Regions from separate parts of the Homo sapiens genome. Here region 1 is linked to region 2. The links are contacts of gene promoters, found by promoter capture Hi-C in blood cells and fetal thymus (Javierre and others, 2016). All regions are on one chromosome and are shown on one strand. Each heading gives the region's core, a stretch centred on a gene start or on the middle of the fragment in contact. The rest is flanking DNA. Distances are from core to core; before and after follow the strand shown. Region 1 overlaps SREK1IP1 (SREK1 interacting protein 1). Region 2 holds the start of KIAA0825.

Region 1 (4,323 bases), core at 59-2,558, about 30 Mb before region 2:
TAGTCTACATGCCTCACAAAGTACAATTAATCCGTGAAGAAAAAAGGTGTAAGAAGAGACAGAGAGGCTGGGCGCGGTGGCTCATGCCTGTAATCCCAGAACTTTGGGAGGCTGAGGCAGGCGGGTCACAGGGTCAGGAGATCTAGACCATCCTGGCTAACATGGTGAAACCTGCCTCTACTAAAAATACAAAAAATTACCCGGGTATAGTGGCATGTGCCTGTAGTCCCAGTTACTTGGGAGGCTGAGGCAGAAGAATCACTTGAACCCGGGAGGCGGAGGCTGCAGTGAGCCGAGACAGTGCCACTGCACTCCAGCCTGGGCGACAGAGCGAGACTCCGTCACCCCCTCCCCCAAAAAAAGAAAAAAAAAATAGAAGAGACAGAGAAATTTGTTTAAGAAGAGACAGAAATTTAATTACCTAATGAAACAGAATGAAGACTGTATTAGCTTAATCTGTTTAGTACTATTTCTGCTCAGCAGCAGTTATAGTAATCAACCCTCTAATTATTCATTATTTACCTATGATGGGTATAACTTTGAACTCGATGTTAGAGAAGCCATAGGGATGAATCAAGCCCCTACAGGGATATCCAATCTTCTGGCTTTGCTGGGCCACACTGTTTTGGGCCACACTTGCACTGTACTTTTACAGCACTGTCACACCTATTATCTCAATTTTTGCTGGGTTTAAACAGTTTATCTATACCTTGCCATCCAACTTAATGGCACAATTTAACATTATTATACTTTGAAGCATTATTTTGAATTGAAAGAAGGTTAACATAACAGTGGTGTGAGTTTAAGAGAATTTTAATAAGGGCTTAAAAATCACTTTTGTCCCCTTTCTTAAGTAGTATTTTCATGTATTGCTTAAAGTTTTATGAGGGCATAAACTATAGAATACACTGAAATACACTAACACTAATAATAGCTGATGAGCTTTAAAAAAAAAATCACAAAAAAACTCATAATGTTTTAAGAAAGTTTACGAGTCTGTGTTGGGCTGCATTCAGTCGTCCTGAGCTGCATGCAGCCCATGGGAAGCGACACTATACTAGTTTATCTATGGTAATGCAACCACAGCTGTAATCCATGATAGAATGTGCCAGGTTCCATAAAAGACACAGAGCTCTATTTAATAAGCATGAAGAAGTGGCAGGGAAGAGTTTCAGCCAAGAGATCAGGAAAGCTTCCCATAGGTAGTTACAGGCAATATAGGAGGTAATAACAAAGGCTCGTAGGTAGGAAAGCACTTGAGAGGTTCACAGAATAATTGGCCAAGTCAGATTTTTGCAGGATTGTAGAATGCATGAGGGGAGTGGTGGAAGGAAAGAGTAGAAAGAGTGATTTGGTCATGCTTGGGAGTGTGCACTGCATTCTCGCAGAGAGAGATGGGGAGACTTGGCATTTTTAACACTTTAGAAGCTTAAGAAACCTTAGCCTTCAACTCCATTATGGAGACACAAAAACTGAACCTCCAAAAGGTTAAGTGGCTTGAAGAGAACTACAAAATTCACAGATAGGGGTCAAGAACTAAGTTCATGCCTCCCACCAATGATAGGATCAGATATATGATTCAGGAAAATTATTTTAGCAGCAATGTGCAATATAGACTAGAGAGAAAACAAATTACCTATAGTCTAGTTTAGGAATAAAGAAAAATTGGATGTAATTGAGAATTCTTCTATTACTAAGATACTATCATAATGTGTTTTAAAAATCTTATTCACTGTGATGTGCCAGACTGAAATGTTAGCTTGGCCACAGAAAAATTCCCTACCTTGGCTATAGGGCTTCAGTGAAGGAGATAATAAGAAAACAGTTTTGTGCCAATTACATCAGTAACATACGTTGCCACTTGTGCCAGTTCAGCTCTTCATGGAGAGTGGTGAATCACTGACATGAATGTTGGAGGTAATTTCAACAACTGTGAATGGGAAAAGCAGTTTTTTCAAAGAAAGTAAATTTCACTGAAACCTGTGATCAAATATTATTTCTATAATAACAACTAAGAGTAAGATTTTCCTAAATGCCTACATTTCATTGCATTACCTACATAATGGTATACGCTTATACACAATGCTATGGAAACACGGGTGAAGCACATGATCATAAAACAGACAAGGCTGATTTTTATGTGTGGTTTGCAGAAAGCAGCCTTGTTACTTTATAATCATACCTTGTCATAATCACTAGCAGGACCACCCCAAGAAATGCCAAACTGAATCCATTAAACCTAAAATTAAAGAGCCTAACATAATACTTGTCCTCCTTGATGATAACCTTGAAAAGTTTAGATTAGCCCTATTTTCCTTTAATACCCTGTCTGGATCGATCATCTAAGAAATTATCTTACGATTTTCTGTATCTGTATTTTCTAATGACACTTGCATTGTACTTTTACAGCACTGTCACACCTATTATCTCAATTATTGCTGGGTTTAAACAGTTTATAGCTTGCCATCTAGCTTAATGGCACAATTTAACATTATTATACTTTGAAGCACTATTTTGAATTGAAAGAAGGTTAACATATCTATAACACTGGTCTAAGTTTAAGAGAATTTTAATGAGGCCTTAAAAAATCACTTTTGTCCCCTTTCTTAAGTAGCACATTTTCATGTACTGCTTAAAGTTTTATGAGGGCACAGACTATGACACTGTGTCCTCCAGTGTGCCCATATCACACAGGTGCCCAAAAGGCTTGCTCAAGTAATGAAATGAGCAGTGATAACAGGTCAACTTTGGGTGCAGCTGTGTGGTATAAAGATCACTAGAGCTGACTCGGCCTATCAGGATGCCTAGGCAATCTACTGTGTAGGTTTATCTTTCGCTGCTGGCCTCTTAGATGTTGACCAGGCTTCAGCCACAGACCTTCCCTTCACATTCTACACACCATCTAAGCAGAGTGCTCCACTCCCATAGCCTTACCTCCTATTATGTGTGTGGGTAACACCCAAATCATTGTCTTTGACTCTGACTTCTTTCCTAAGCTACAAATTATATCTCTTACTATTAACTATTTGCATTCCTATGTCTGACTAACCTCAACACAACAAGCCCCAGACTGGATGTCATCATCATCCCCTTAACCCCTGCCCCTTGTGAGGTGTTGTCATGTCAGTAAACAGCCCCACCCAATTGCTTAACAGTAAAACCCAGGTAAACCTCATTTCCTCTTTTACCTACCCACACTGAATCAATCACCAACTCCTAGTGACTCTACCACCAAAAATGTATCTTCAATTTATCCACTTCTCTCCTTACCTATTGAGACCACATCTCAGCCACACATCATTATAACTCACCAGAATTACTCCTAACTGGTAAACTTTGTCTCCAATCTACTTTCTAGCCAGAATTATCTTTCCAAAATGTGAATCTGCTTTAAAATCCTTAAATGGCTTCCTGCCATCTGTAGGATAATGCCAAACCTCTTGTCATGGCCTACAGGTCCTTAAAGAGCTGGAAACTACCTTGTAAGTTATCCTATACGATGGCAAAATGAATGAAGTACACAGTCTAGAGGAACCAGACTGACTTCTTGCTTTCCAGCTGTCTCATAATAGGCAAATTACTTGATTTCTTTGTCCCTCAGTGTCCTCATCTGTAAAATGGGAATATTAATACTCATTTCACAGTGCAGTTGTGAATATTAAATGAGATAGAATACAATGTTTGATATAGTATCTGACATATTTGACTTATAAATATTAGTCAATATTAGCTACAGTTACTATCTACTTAATTTCTCACTTACCTCCCATTTGTATTTGAGTTCTATCCACAGAAAACATCTTTCATTCTGACATATTTGACACATAAATATTAGTCAATATTAGCTACAGCTACTACCTCTGTACTTAATTTCTCACTTATCTCCCATCTGTATTTGAGTTCCATCCATAGAAAACATCTTTCATTTCCTCTTTTCACATATTTCCTCTTCCTTTACGTATCCAGTTCCTCCGACTGCAGTCTCCTCTCCCTTCAAGCCACCCCTCCTACAATTCAGATCTCCTCCTAAGTGCTACCTCCTTTGGAAAGTCCTTCTGCCCATCCTGTATGTGTTTGGTGCCCTTACTTTGTGCTAAGGTCTTGTATTTTCCTTGCCATGGCACTTGTCCCACTTTCTGTAAATTTCTCTCTCTTCACTGCTAAATTCTAAGTTCTGTGTGAAGCGTAACCATGTCTACCTTGCTCACCACTGTATTTCCAATGCCCAGTACCAGTGCCTGGCACACAGTAGGCTTAATAAAGAGTGTACATTTCCTCTCTCACAGCTCCAGATGTACTCCTCCGCAAACTTCAGTTAGTACA
Region 2 (4,239 bases), core at 851-3,350:
TGCTCATTTACTCATTCTTTCTCCCTACACACACACACACACATGCACACACAAATATACATGTATACAAATGTGTGTGTGAAAAGCTGTCTAAAGAGATAGTTAGCTGATACTCTGGACTCAGTCACCAATATGCTTGCTGATGGTCTCCAGATCTTCTGCATTTGCCCCAAGTGTTATGCTAATGTACAGTATAGGCATTTGTTTGAATTAGGATAATAAAACTGGCCAAGGATAAAGGCACTAAAGAAACTGCATTATTTAGATGTCAAAATTACCTTATGGTGATGAACACATCCCTTAAGTCCCTTTTATCCTCAAGTTTTGCTATCCACTTGATTTCTAAATGTGACATACTATCTATCCATTTTTACCTGGAGTGAAAATAATGATACTGTTATGTTTACTTATAAAGGTATAGAGCACAGTAAAAAGAGCCAAAATTTAGAGTCAGGTAGACTGGATTCAAATTTTAATTGTGCCATTTAATTGTATAATTTATGGAAAATCACAACCTCTTTGGGTCTCAGTATAAAATGTTTTGCAAAATAGAAATAATACAATTTTTGTGATTTTCTTTTTTTATTAAACATTAAATAAAATAATAAATGTAAAGTGCCTGGCAGACAGTATCTACTTGGGGTAAGTATTAATGATTGGCTACATTCAAGAGCAATTCAAAGAGAGAAATCACTGCCTCTAAAAACTAGTTGCTGTACAGATATAATACATAATATCCCTGAAGTAATTTATAATACTTTCAACTGGAGAAATAAAGAAAAAATACAAGATTCAACAAAATGTCAAGATTGGGATTAATGGGGCGATTATAAGTTTGTTGAATTATTAACCAACAAGGCCAGAAAATCAATGTGCTGTCCTAAATATGGTTTGTTGCATTACTCTCAAAAGGTTAAGAAGACACTGGCCTGGTGTTAACAGGGGCCTTGAATTGAACATATTGCATTTTTCTTTATCGGTATGCTCCGATAAAGAAAATGTTTTTATGGGTATGAGGAGCATACCCATAAAAAAAATGCAATAGTACCTACAACTCTTTCGGGAACTGACTGTTTTGAAAAAATAACAGTCAGCTGCCTTTTACGGGGGTTGGTGGGGAGGTAATTATCTAAATATAAGGTGGCAAGTGAAAACTAGTTACCTAAGAAATTGCATTACTTAAGAGAAGTCGCCAAGGTTCACTACATCACATCTTTCAAATCTTAAATGAGCACCTTTCCTCACATTATCCCTTTGTCGGAAGCAATTTCTCTTTACAACTATTCTGGCTACCTCAGACCTCCATCCAAAATTCTCCTGAATCCTTCATTATCGACAAAGCCTGGAGCAGAACGCAAGCATTCCTTTCTGAAAGCACACATACTTACTGATCACTGCTTTCCAAAAATGCATCTAATGCCCAAGCATGAAATTACAAGCTTGTTCTCTTATGTCTCAGCCATGAAAACAAAGACCGTTCTTCTCATCCAATTCAAATGGCGGGAGGAACCTTCAATTAATTCTAAATCAGGAAGGAACCTCCCCATCTCACTTCCTAAATGTTTGTAAAAGATGTCTTCTTCAGCCAACCTCCTGCCTTCCAGGCACGGCACCCCAGAACTACGGAAACAGTACTCAGGAATCAAGAGTGGCCAAACGCTGCCAATGGGAGATAGGAAACTCGTTGATCATTGGTAGAGAAACTCGGCACAACGCCGAGTCACGGTACACGGTGTCTTCGGCCTCGCCCAGGGACACTTGGTGACCCGAGGTCGAGTTCCAAGTCGGAGACAGATTTTGCGAGTGGATAAGACGGTAAGCCGGGATCCCAGGGCCTTCTCCAGCTGCACTGGGTGTCAAGCGCCACGGGGTTTGATGGGGACTCCTTCTGGTTCCACCCTCGCCCACTCACTTCTCGGGCTGGCCATAATGCTGCACAGAGCCCCGGCCAGCCATTAATATCAGGCGCAGGAGAAAACCCAGTAAAATCACTTACCAGTCTTCCACCTCCGGTGCTGATCTAGCAAGAGCCTGACCCGCTGGCCAGACTCAAGCTCTGCACCAGGTATTACCACCCTGGCGACGGCTCCGGAGCGTCACTGACAACCACCCGGAAATGGTACTATCGCTTCCGGGGCTGCCTAGCGCGCGGCGGGAAATTGTTTCCCAGAGCCCGGATTCGTGAAGCAGTTGAGTGCTGCAGCGGCAGTCGTCGCCCCTGCCGCCGCTGCCACCGAAGGAAGCATCCCAGACACCGGGAAGGTAAAGGGGCTCAGCTAGGAAGACACAGTGTATTCTGTCTCTGTGGGGATGTTTCTTCGCCGGGCGGTACCTCCGAAGTTTCTGCCTCCCGGCTGTGAGGCTAGGAAGGAAGCGGCTGGGGTGAGCGGCAGCGGTGTCTGGCTCTCGCGCTTTCTCCAGCTGCAGTTCGTTCCAGCTCTCCCGACTTCGCGCTCGGCGCCGGAGTTGGTGGGCTGCAGCTGCAGACCCCGCGACGCTTCGCCCGTGCCGCTGCGGGGACTGCCACCGAGCGCCCCTCTGCAGTACTGGGCTGAGCCACTTCCCCCGCTTCTGCTTGCGCAGCTCTGCCGCTCGGCCCGCCGCCTGGAAGGCGCTAGGCCCCCCGCGTCTCTCGTTTCCATAGAACCCATGGGGACGCCTCATCCTGATACCAGAATTTTGGCTGCTTTCCATAACTTAGCGTCTGCGAAGGTGGCTGGGATACCCCAGGCCCACTTTCCTGTGACGAAGAAAATTGTGTCATTCTTTCCTCTCTAGTAGAATTTTTTTTTTTTAAACTGCTAAAACGGCAGTGATCCTATCTCTGACTGCTATAGGCCTTTAAACACAAACATACACACATACACTTTTCGCTGAAGGGAGGGTCTGTGTTCCTGGGGTTTATATTTCAGCTGCCTGAAGGCTGGAAACAAGACTGAGTGGCTATTTTAAGATTTCTTCCACTTCCAAAGCCTCAGATTAAATATTGACAAAAAAAAAATTGGTCCGTCTCGGGTACTTCATATCATTATTTGACTCAGGAGTTAGATGGAGCTTGATTTTGGAGGCGCCAGCCTCTTTTTTGACGAATGACTTTATTAAAAAATTTTGTTGTTGTTGTTGAAATATTGGGAATGAACATTTGAACTGAATTTACAATGTATGTGTGACAGACAATGCACCTTGTGGACTTTTTGGTTTATGTTATTCCGTTGTGCCTCAATTCTTGGAAATACCTGTGGATGTGCAAGATGTTCTCATTATTGGAAAGTTTGATTACGTATATTGCAGGTGTTCAATACCTAAGTTGCTAGTATGAGGTGAATTTATATTAAAGAGTATATTTCTTTATTTTCTTTTCTTACCTTTCCTTCCTTCCTTTGCTTTCTTTCTTTCTTTGACAGAGCCTTGCTCTGTTGCCCAGGCTGGAGTGCAGTGCCTATCGGCTCACTGCAACCTCCGGCTCCCAGGTTCAAGCAATTCTCCTATCTCAGCCTCCCGAGTAGCTGGGATTACAGGTGCGCGACACCACGCCCGACTAATGTTTTGTATTTTTAATAGAGACAGGGTTTCACCATGCTGTCCAGGCTGGTCTCGAACTCCTGATCTCAAGTGTTCCGCTCGCCTCGGCCTCCCAAAGTGCTGGGATTACAGGCGTGAGCCACCGGGTAACTCTTGAGTATTCTTAATTTAAAGGAACTAGGATGTTCAAATACTTGAATGTTTAAGTCAATTTTATTGTAAAGACAGCGAACCTTCAGTACTGCAAATAAACCCCTATTCTGTTTTCTAAATCCAGATTTTATTATGCGTTATTAAGTAAAATTGAATTATATAACCTAACATTTTCTTGCTTCCCTAAAGCATAAAGCGTGGATCACGTGAAAGTCATTGAAAAGATGATCAAATGTGGTTACTTTTCATAATCAAAATTCAGAACTGAAGATTTCGTAATAAGCATCCACATTTTCCACTGATGTTCAAAAACATTGCGTTTTGGGAAACCAATAGTATAGCTTTTATTTATTAGTACTTTCCTTATTATATGTATCTTGATTATATTACCCTAAAGTAGGGTTTTCACCATTTAAATAAAACTTTTTTAGAAAGTAAAATAAAAAATTCTGTGTTGGCTTTGAATAATAAACCCTAAACAAAACGAATTCTCTCAAGAATGTAACTAAAATGAGACATCATCTGTTACTCTTGTAGTTGACTCTTTGAATATACTAATAGAAA

The links. Contacts are between HindIII fragments. The CHiCAGO score rates a contact against its expected background, and 5 or more counts as called.
Region 1: a contact is called between a fragment that was not itself captured here and the fragment with the promoter of KIAA0825 in region 2, in 5 of 17 cell types (total B cells, total CD4 T cells, naive B cells and 2 more). The highest score is 14.1, in total B cells.

Annotation. Positions count from the first base shown.
Region 1 is chr5:64,763,192-64,767,514 of GRCh38, forward strand. All of the region lies in intron 1 of SREK1IP1 (SREK1 interacting protein 1), which reads right to left. LOC124900985 (a long non-coding RNA gene) reads right to left here. Exons shown (of 4, transcript XR_007058787.1): 1 at 3,764-4,323; 2 at 1,784-1,930. Among named protein-coding and RNA genes, the nearest start is that of SREK1IP1, 3.3 kb to the right of the region's middle. RefSeq lists a silencer at 3,049-3,188. The HindIII fragment of the contact is 236 bases long and covers 1,191-1,426 here.
Region 2 is chr5:94,616,504-94,620,742 of GRCh38, forward strand. KIAA0825 reads right to left here and starts at 2,101. Exons shown (of 21, transcript NM_001145678.3): 1 at 1,997-2,101. SLF1 (SMC5/6 complex localization factor 1) reads left to right here and starts at 2,166. Exons shown (of 21, transcript NM_032290.4): 1 at 2,166-2,262. RefSeq lists enhancers at 1,115-1,979, 1,718-1,897, 2,208-2,387, 2,778-2,887. The HindIII fragment of the contact is 3,766 bases long and covers 1,438-4,239 here.